2 separate regions of the Homo sapiens genome follow, and region 2 is linked to region 1. The links are contacts of gene promoters, found by promoter capture Hi-C in blood cells and fetal thymus (Javierre and others, 2016). All regions are on one chromosome and are shown on one strand. Each heading gives the region's core, a stretch centred on a gene start or on the middle of the fragment in contact. The rest is flanking DNA. Distances are from core to core; before and after follow the strand shown. Region 1 holds the start of NELFCD (negative elongation factor complex member C/D). Region 2 has its middle 13 kb from the start of ANKRD60.

The links. The method cuts DNA at HindIII sites, captures the fragments that hold promoters and counts their contacts. A CHiCAGO score of 5 or more calls a contact.
Region 2: a fragment that was not itself captured here is called in contact with the fragment with the promoter of NELFCD in region 1 in 1 of 17 cell types (neutrophils); the score reaches 5.4 in neutrophils.

The regions. Positions count from the first base shown.
Region 1 is chr20:58,979,224-58,983,456 of GRCh38, reverse strand. It overlaps NELFCD (negative elongation factor complex member C/D), which reads right to left and starts at 2,201. Exons shown (of 15, transcript NM_198976.4): 1 at 2,088-2,201. The coding sequence starts at 2,147. RefSeq lists an enhancer at 1,443-1,943 and a silencer at 1,866-2,345. The HindIII fragment of the contact is 8,660 bases long and covers 1-4,233 here.
Region 2 is chr20:58,239,549-58,243,465 of GRCh38, reverse strand. It overlaps the pseudogene PPP4R1L. Among named protein-coding and RNA genes, the nearest start is that of ANKRD60, 13 kb to the right of the region's middle. RefSeq lists an enhancer at 1,502-2,002. The HindIII fragment of the contact is 2,151 bases long and covers 588-2,738 here.

The DNA.
Region 1 (4,233 bases), core at 952-3,451:
AAGAAAAAAAAAAAAAAAAAAGGCCGGGTGCGGTGGCTCACGCCTGTAATCCTAGCATTTTGGGAGGCCGGGGCAGGCGGATCACCTGAGGTCAGGAGTTCAAGACTAGCCTGGCCAACGTGGTGAAACACTGTCTCTACTAAAATACAAAAATTAGCCGGACATGATGGCGGATGCCTGTAATCCCAGCTACTCAGGAGGCTGAGACGGGAGAATTGCTTGAACCCAGGAGATGGCAGTTGCAGCGAGCTGAGATCAAGCCACTGCACTCCAGCCTGAGCAGCTAAGCGAGACTCTGTCTCAAAAAAAAAAAAAAAGAAAAAAAGGCTCAAGGTGATATACTAGATGCCCCAAACACCAACCTACCACTAAGCTAATTCACACCTTCTCATCTGGACCACTTTGGTAGTCAGCAATTTGACGAAGTGGCAACGGAGGCAAAGGATGTGGGTTTGGGTCCCCTCTCCTTCCTTTATTAGTTTCATGACCTTGGGCAGGTCAGTAAGTCTTTTCGTCTCATTTTCTACACTTACCAGATAAGTAGGGTAACACCCAACTCAAAATCCTGTGTGTGGAAGGGGATAACGCATGACACACATGGCCCAAGCTCTCAGTTAGCTAAGTCTGACTCTATCCACTCCACCCTAAGCCTCCAACACTGTGAAATGATCCAACATGCAAATCTACTCGTGTCACTCCCTGCCCCAAACTCCTGAACAAGCCATACCATTCAGCAGCTCTCCAAGGATCTTCAGAACCTGCTCCCTACTGACCTCCTGCCACTGCTTCCACCAGGCAGCTAACATCACAGGGCTTCTTTCAGTTCCAGAAACACATCGCCCGCCTTGGCATTTTAGACCATGGCTCCGAAGCCGCCATCACACCACCACCCATGTTTATCAACGTAAGCCCCACTTCATCCTTTATTCCCTTATAATACCACTTCAAAATGCACCAGACATCCCCAATCTTGATTGTTGTTAAAAATGCAAGTTCCTGGGCCACGAGCAGTGGCTCACGCCTGTAATCCCAGTACTTTGGGAGGCAGAGGTGGGTGGATCACCTGAGGTCAAGAGTTTGAGACCAGCCTGGCCAACAAGGTGAAACCCCCTCTCTACTCAAAATTTTAAAAATTAGCTGGGCATGGTGGTGGGTGCCTGTAATCCCAGCTATTCGGGAGGCTGAGGCAGGAGAATCGCTTGAATCCGAGAGGCAGACGTTGCAGTGAGCCGCGATGGCGCCATTACACTCCAGCCTGGGCAACAAGAGCGAAACTCCACCACAAAAAAAAAAAAAAAAAAAAAAAAAAAAAAAAATGCAAGTTCCCAGGCTCCCGTCCAGACCAACTGTTGGGCCGTCTCCAGGGGAGGGACGTGAGAAGCTACATTTCAATCATGCGCCTCAGTTGGGTCTTTAGAGTAAGGTGGGGACACACTGTCCAGACTAGAGCTACCTGCCCTGGCTCTGCAGTCCCTGTCCTCAGGGTGGAACAGTGATCCCTCCTGGGCTTCCACCCCAAACCCTGGAAGGTCAAGGCCCGAAAATCCTTTCCATCAGTTTGCCCAAAAACAGATGAAATCAGCCCAAGGTGCTGAAGAGTACAGTTTATAAAACAGTAAAGCACATGTAGGAATGCCCTAAGTTCTACTTTTTCCTCATGATGCTGCTGTGAAGTTTTTCCACTTTATTTTTGTTTAAAAGTCTGTGAGCTCCGGACCCAACCCTCCACCTTAGCGTTGGTGTCCCGCCCGCCGCGGGGGTCGCAGGGCCGGCGCCGGGCCTGGCCGGAGCGAGGGGGTACTGGGGGCCTCGGGCCGCCCCGCGCCAGAGCCTCCGGCGCCTCACCCCCACCCCAAGGTCCTGCAGGCGAGGAGGCGGGGACCCCGGCGGCCGCGCCGCGGGACCCCGGGCGGGCGGGGGCGGGGCGGGCTGTGCTTGAACCACACGGTGACCGCGCGGGCCGTGCGCGCGCACACCCCCCGCACGCCCGCAGCCTCGCGCCGCGCGGCCTCTCCGGGAGTGGGGCCGGCCCGCCGGCGGCGGAGACGAACGATTCTCTCTAGGGTGCGCCCAGTGCCCCGCCTCACCTGGCCGCCGTCAGCCTCGTCGCCCCACTCGGCCGCGCTCCCGTAGTAGTCCTCGTCCATGATGGCGCCCGGCACGGCCCCCGCCATGCCCTCCCGCGAGCGAGCGCGGCGCATGCGCGAGGCGGGGACGGGCGGGCGGGCGCACGCGCGGCCGCGCGCCTCGGCCCGGGCGGGAGGCGGGGCCTGGAAGAAGGGGCGGGGCCTGGAGGAAGGGCAGGGCCGCGGGCTCGGCACTGGGAACAAAGGGGACCGGCGGAAGGAACGCCCCCAGTCGATCCCGGAGCGATGCCCGGGTGGACCAGGGGCTTAGCTCCGGAGAGAGGTTTCCCACTGGATTCGTGCACAGCCCCTCCCCTGCGGCGCCGGCTCTGCGAGCCCCAGTTTCCTCATCTGGCAGCTGGAAACAAATCCTTCCGGAAGTGTCCAGGACCCACGAAAGTGTTTTAATTTCTTTTAGTTTTGGTAAAAAGTACTAAACGCGACCGGGCGTGGGGGCTCACGCCTGTAATCCCAGCACTTTGGGAGACCGAGGCTGACGGATCACTTGAGGTCAGGAGTTCGAGGCCAGTCTGGCCAACATGGTGAAACCCCGTCTCTGCTCAAAATACAAAAATTAGCCGGGCGTGGTGGCATGCGCCTGTAATCCCAGGTACTCGGGTGACTGAGGCAGGAGAATCGCTTGAACCCGGGAGGCGGAGGTTGCAGTGAGCCAAGATCGCACCATTGCACTCCAGCCTGAGCGACAGAGCGAGACCCTATCTCAAATAAATAAATACATACATAAAAAGGGCAGGGCACGGTGGCTCACGCCTGTAATCCCAACACTTTGGGAGGCCGAGGCGGGCGGATCACCTGAGGTCAGGAGTTCGAGACCAGCCTGGTCAACATGGTAAAACCCCTTCTCTACTAATAACACAAAAATTAGCTGGGCATGGTGGCGGGCGCCTGTAGTCTCAGCTACTCAAGAGGCTGAGTCACGAGAACCGCTTGAACCCAGGAGGTGGAGGTTGCAGTGAGCCAAGATCACACCACCGCACTCCAGCCTAGGCAACAGAGTGAAACTGTGTCAAAAAAAAAAAAAAAAAGAAAAAGAAAAAGAAAGAAAGAAGAAAGAAAGAAAAGAAAAGAAAAAAGAAAAGAGAAGAAAAAGTACTGAATGCAGTGGAAAGTAGCATTTTTAATTTTTTATAAAGTGGAAGATAGGCCCACAAAGCAAAAGTGCCCAGAGCTGACAAAAATCTCTGGAGAAAGGACCTCTCTGGTCGTTGCCAAAGGGAGCAGCTGACGCTGTTGTAAAGCCCGCAGCTCGATTCCCAGCGTGAAGTAGGGGGTGAGAATATGACAGCCTCCTGATGATCACGGAAAGGTTTTTGTTTGGTTGTTGTGTTTTTGTTTTGTTTTAATTTTAGATTCGGTGCGTGTGCAGGTTTGTTACATTGGTATATTGCGTGATGCTTCTAATCCTTTCGGCAACTTTTTCAGCCTTTACCCCCCTCCACACCTTCTGCCTTTTGGAATACCCCATGTCTGTTGTTCCCATCTTTGTGTCCAAATCACAGAAAATTTTAAACAGGGAGATTAACGCCATAAAATCTGGATGCTTTGAAAGGTAACGCCCGTGGCTGAGCGCCGCGGCTCACACCTGTAATCCCAGCACTTTGGGAGGCCAAGGTGGGAGGATTGCTTGAGGCAAGAGTTTGAGACCAACCTGGGCAACATAGCGAGACACCGCCCCCCCCCTTCCCCCGCCCCCAGCCAGGTATGGTGATGCACGCCTGTAGTCCTAGCTGCTCGGGAGGCTGAGGCAGGAGGATTGCTTCAGCCCAGGAGTTTGAGGTTACAGTTTGCTATGGTCGTGCCATTGCATTTCAGCCTGTGTGACAAAGTGAGACCCTGTCTATAAAGAAAAAAAAGAAAGGTAATGCCCATGTCAGTAAGGAAAGAGTATTAGAGAAAAGAGCTCCAGAAGATTGATAATAGTGACTACTTTTGGAGAACTTATCAGGGAATATGTCTTCATTTATTCAACAAATGTTTATTGAGTGTTCCCTAAGTGCCCAGCACTGCGCTGCTCCCTGGAGCTCGGTGAACAAGTTGGACCTGATCCTTGTCCGGGTAGAGCCTACATTCTACTGAAGGAGCTGAA
Region 2 (3,917 bases), core at 414-2,913, 740 kb after region 1:
CACAAAGCAGCATTTTCTCTTATTAATATATCCCAGCAGAGATGATAAATGGCAAATTTCATTTTATTCTTAAGGTCATGTTTTGGATAACTAGACAACCAATCAATCAGGTGATTGATAGTGCCGACGCGCTCCCACGAAGACGGGTGGGCACCAGAAAGTACCTTCCCTCTTCTCCAGAGATGACAAGAACTTCTTCTTTGGGGAGGTTAACCATGTAAATGCTCTGTGTCACTGCTAACAGACATCAACATCTTTTAATAATAGTGGAGGGTGAATTCAGGCAGTTCCTGGAATTTCAAGTGGACGAGGCCTCCCAGAGCAGCTGTCACACCAGCCGCCCATTTGGTAGGCGCTCTGGCATACGTGGATGCTCCAGTGCTGGTCCTGGCATGCTGTTTCTCTTTCTTTTGAAAAAGCACCAGTGACCCCCTTCCTCCTGTGGGTGGAACCAGCCCCTTGTGAGACCACGGCCCCAAAGCTGGAGTGAAGAGGGGCCCATGATTTATTTCTTCAGGTTTCTCCAGGAGCTTGGGTCAACCCCTTGTAGCTGGAGGTTCTTGAGCTGTCCTAGTTTCTACTAAGCTTCCACTTGGACCACTTTAAGTTGGGGTCTTCCACAGGTAGGGGGGCAGAATGGAGGATTAAAATGAGGGAGGAGTCTGTGGTCATACAGTCATTGGGATAGCACCGTGTCATTATCATGTGCCATGATGGATAATCTCTTCAATCTCATGGTCTCCAGGGCCTAAATACCAGTTGTTTCTCTATTCATACAGTTTAGAACTTGATTTCAGTGATTAACACCTCCCTTACCCCTTAGGCCTGCTCTAATAAAGCAAAATAAAACATTTTAGAACTCAAACATAAAATGTGTAGGAGTTGGTTATCTGTGATTAATAAGAAATGGGGTGATATCCTCTTCTGCTGGTTTGTTGCTAAAAAAATTAGCAAGAAAGCTCATTATTGTCAACCTTGTTACCTAGAGTGCAAAAGTTGCAAGTGTTAAGTAGAAGGGTGTGACCACATTTACCTTGGTGGGGATGTGATAGTATTTGGACTTCTTTATCATAGAGGTGAAAAAAAAAAAAAAGAACAGATTCCTCCAGGCTGGGGCTTTTGAGTTGCAGCTTTAAAAGGGTTTGTGTAATGGAGCCTGTTTTATGGTGTGGGAGGGCAGAGCCCTTGAATTTGCGGCTTGACTCCAAGATCCTAGTGGGATTAATTAGGATGCTTCCTGTCGCAAAAGAAGGGAGAGGAAATAAAAAACTCCAAGAACCATGAGGAAAATGTTCTCTTGCACAAGACAAGAGGAAGAAGTGCTGTGGTTGGGCAGCTTCTGGGCTGCTAGACTCCATACCTTTGGTGCTGATCTGTCCACCCTTCCCCTCTGCTGTGGTGGCTTTTGTCAGCATGAAATGCCCAGTGGAAGGCGGGGCCTGTGTCTTCCCACTTGTCTCTTTTGAAGAACAAGGACACCCCAGGCGGGAAACCACCTCCCTGCCCTCTCCTTCTGCCTCCCTCTTCCTGGCCACAGTCACGGTGTGCATTCATGGGTTGAGCATGGTGAACTGGGCAGAAACATGGGAGCCCCCTGAGTCGGGATCCTGCTAGAAAGAAGGCTGCTGGATGCTGAGTGGTGGGTGCACAGGTAGCCAGCCAGCATGGTGTCCCACTGGGGTTTGGGGAACTCACAATACCTTCTGGAGGTGCCATGACTTGTGGTGATTTGCTTAAGCCTTGATTTGGCTCCTGGATTAAGTGCTGCACATATGCTTGCACTGAAGACTTTGGAATAAAATTAATTTCTAAAGGGATAATAGTGATTCTAATGACACATCTTGTTACTATATGTGAATTTATTAATAATAAGACCACAAGAAATTGAGGTCTTAGGTTTTTATACCAAAATATTTCTGTTTTATCATGTCCTCTGTTAAAATAAATAGTACATATCAGTGAAAACCTTGGGAATTGAAGGTTCTGGTGGCGCGCCTCAGAGCAAACGAAGCATCTATCGGTGTGTTAATCGACTTTCCTGGATCATACATTGAGCTGATTTGTCAGAATCCATTAAGCTGGTAGACAGTATGACATTTCAAGTGCAACTTGGAAATCCATGTTATGGTTGAAGGAGAAGGTCAGGTCCATCTCAGTTAATGTTAATCAACGATCAGAGACCAAAATGTCACCATTGAATGTTCTTGTTCATTTTAATTGTTTACCTAATGTAAAGGTTTATCAGCGAACATCAGGAGTGTTTGTACCTGTGAAAATCTAGGACAATTTTCTGATTAAATACTCCTGTATCAGCCACATCTTTTCTCTCAGATTCATTGGGTTCCCCAGCCCCCATCCTCTTTCAGGGACCCACCATTGCTGCAATCCCTGATTACCAAGAAATGCTGGAGGTGCTGGCTCTACCACTTCTTGCAAACCTCACCCTTCTGGAGTAGTCTGTGCCTTAAACATGTGAATATTACTTAAAGGTGTTGGTTAGCCATACCAGGGAGTCCCTAGGGCATAAGGAATAGTGGATGCAAACTCACAGGGTTGCTCCTCAGTGCTTTCACTTTAGCCTTTGTATTTCTGTAAGGACCTCCAGCAGTCTTGAAATTAAAATGTATGAAATCAATTTTCCTTTGCACTTAAAAGAACTGGTTTATACAGTATCATATGTAACTGTGCAAATGTAATTTTTAACATCTGGAAAGATACCATTGACTTCAAGGAAAGCTTTTGCCTTGGCTTACAGAAGTAATTTCTGGCATTGAAAAAGGACTCTTTGAAGGGGAAGTGACAGGACAGCTGCTTCCTTTGGAGCAAATTGGTAACATGTCCAATCAACTCTGTAGGATCCAGGTGGACCCAGAAATGGAACCAGTGACCATCTGGAGACTGACCAGAGGCAGGATCCCACCCCACTTGAAGAGAATAAATCTAAATTACAGGTTCGTTTCTTTCGGGGGCGGGGGGGCGGGGAGGCAACTCAAAACTGTGTATTTTCTTAAAGTTAACTTTAAGAATTGGAACCAAATATTTTTTCTTCTATCAATATTGATTACATATTTTAATTCATATTTCGTGTTGCTAATTGTAAAAAATTAATTGTAAGGTAGTGTTTAAGCTTCTGAACAATCTATAATAGTGTTTTCAATAAAGCAAACTAATATGAGAAAAAAATAAGACATCTAACACTGATTTGATTGAGTTCTATCTCAGTCAAGCACAGTCAAACATAGACGTGATTATCAGAGTATAAGGTCTCAGGTGCTAGGTTCTTGGGGCAGTTGTAAGAAAAGAGAAGGCAGTCTCCATTCTCAAGAGCTGGATGTACCAGCCTAAGCAGACATTGCTGTCTAGACTGTCCTCTATGATATCAAATATTGTGCCAATCTTAAGAAGATGAGTTTTGGGTGTTGCTTTCACTTCAAGCAAAATTGAAAACCCACTCTCTGGAGAAAACAGAGTTGGCAATCTGAAGCCCTTTGGCTTTAGGAAGGCCTCATGTTCCTCTCACATTTCTGCTTTATTGTTTTCACCTCTAAACTCCAAACTCCTTGTTTTTCATGAGTATTTTCCTGCATTCACGATGGCCTCCTTTCTCTCTCATTTCCCAGGATGTAATACCTCAGCCGCTGCTAGATCAGTATGTGTCCATGACTGACCCAGCTCGAGCCCAGACTGTCGATACTGACATAGCCAAACACTGTGCCTACAGCCTCCCAGGGGTGGCACTGACCCTGGGCAGGCAAAATTGGCACTGCCTGAAAGATACATATGAAACACTGGCTTCTGATGTACAGGTAAAAGCCTTTCCAGAGGCACGTGCAGAAAGAGGGTGGGTCATTCATTAGGGAGAAAAGGGAAGCTGCAGCAAGGCTTATTGGCCTGAATTTTATGTGGATGCAAATTGG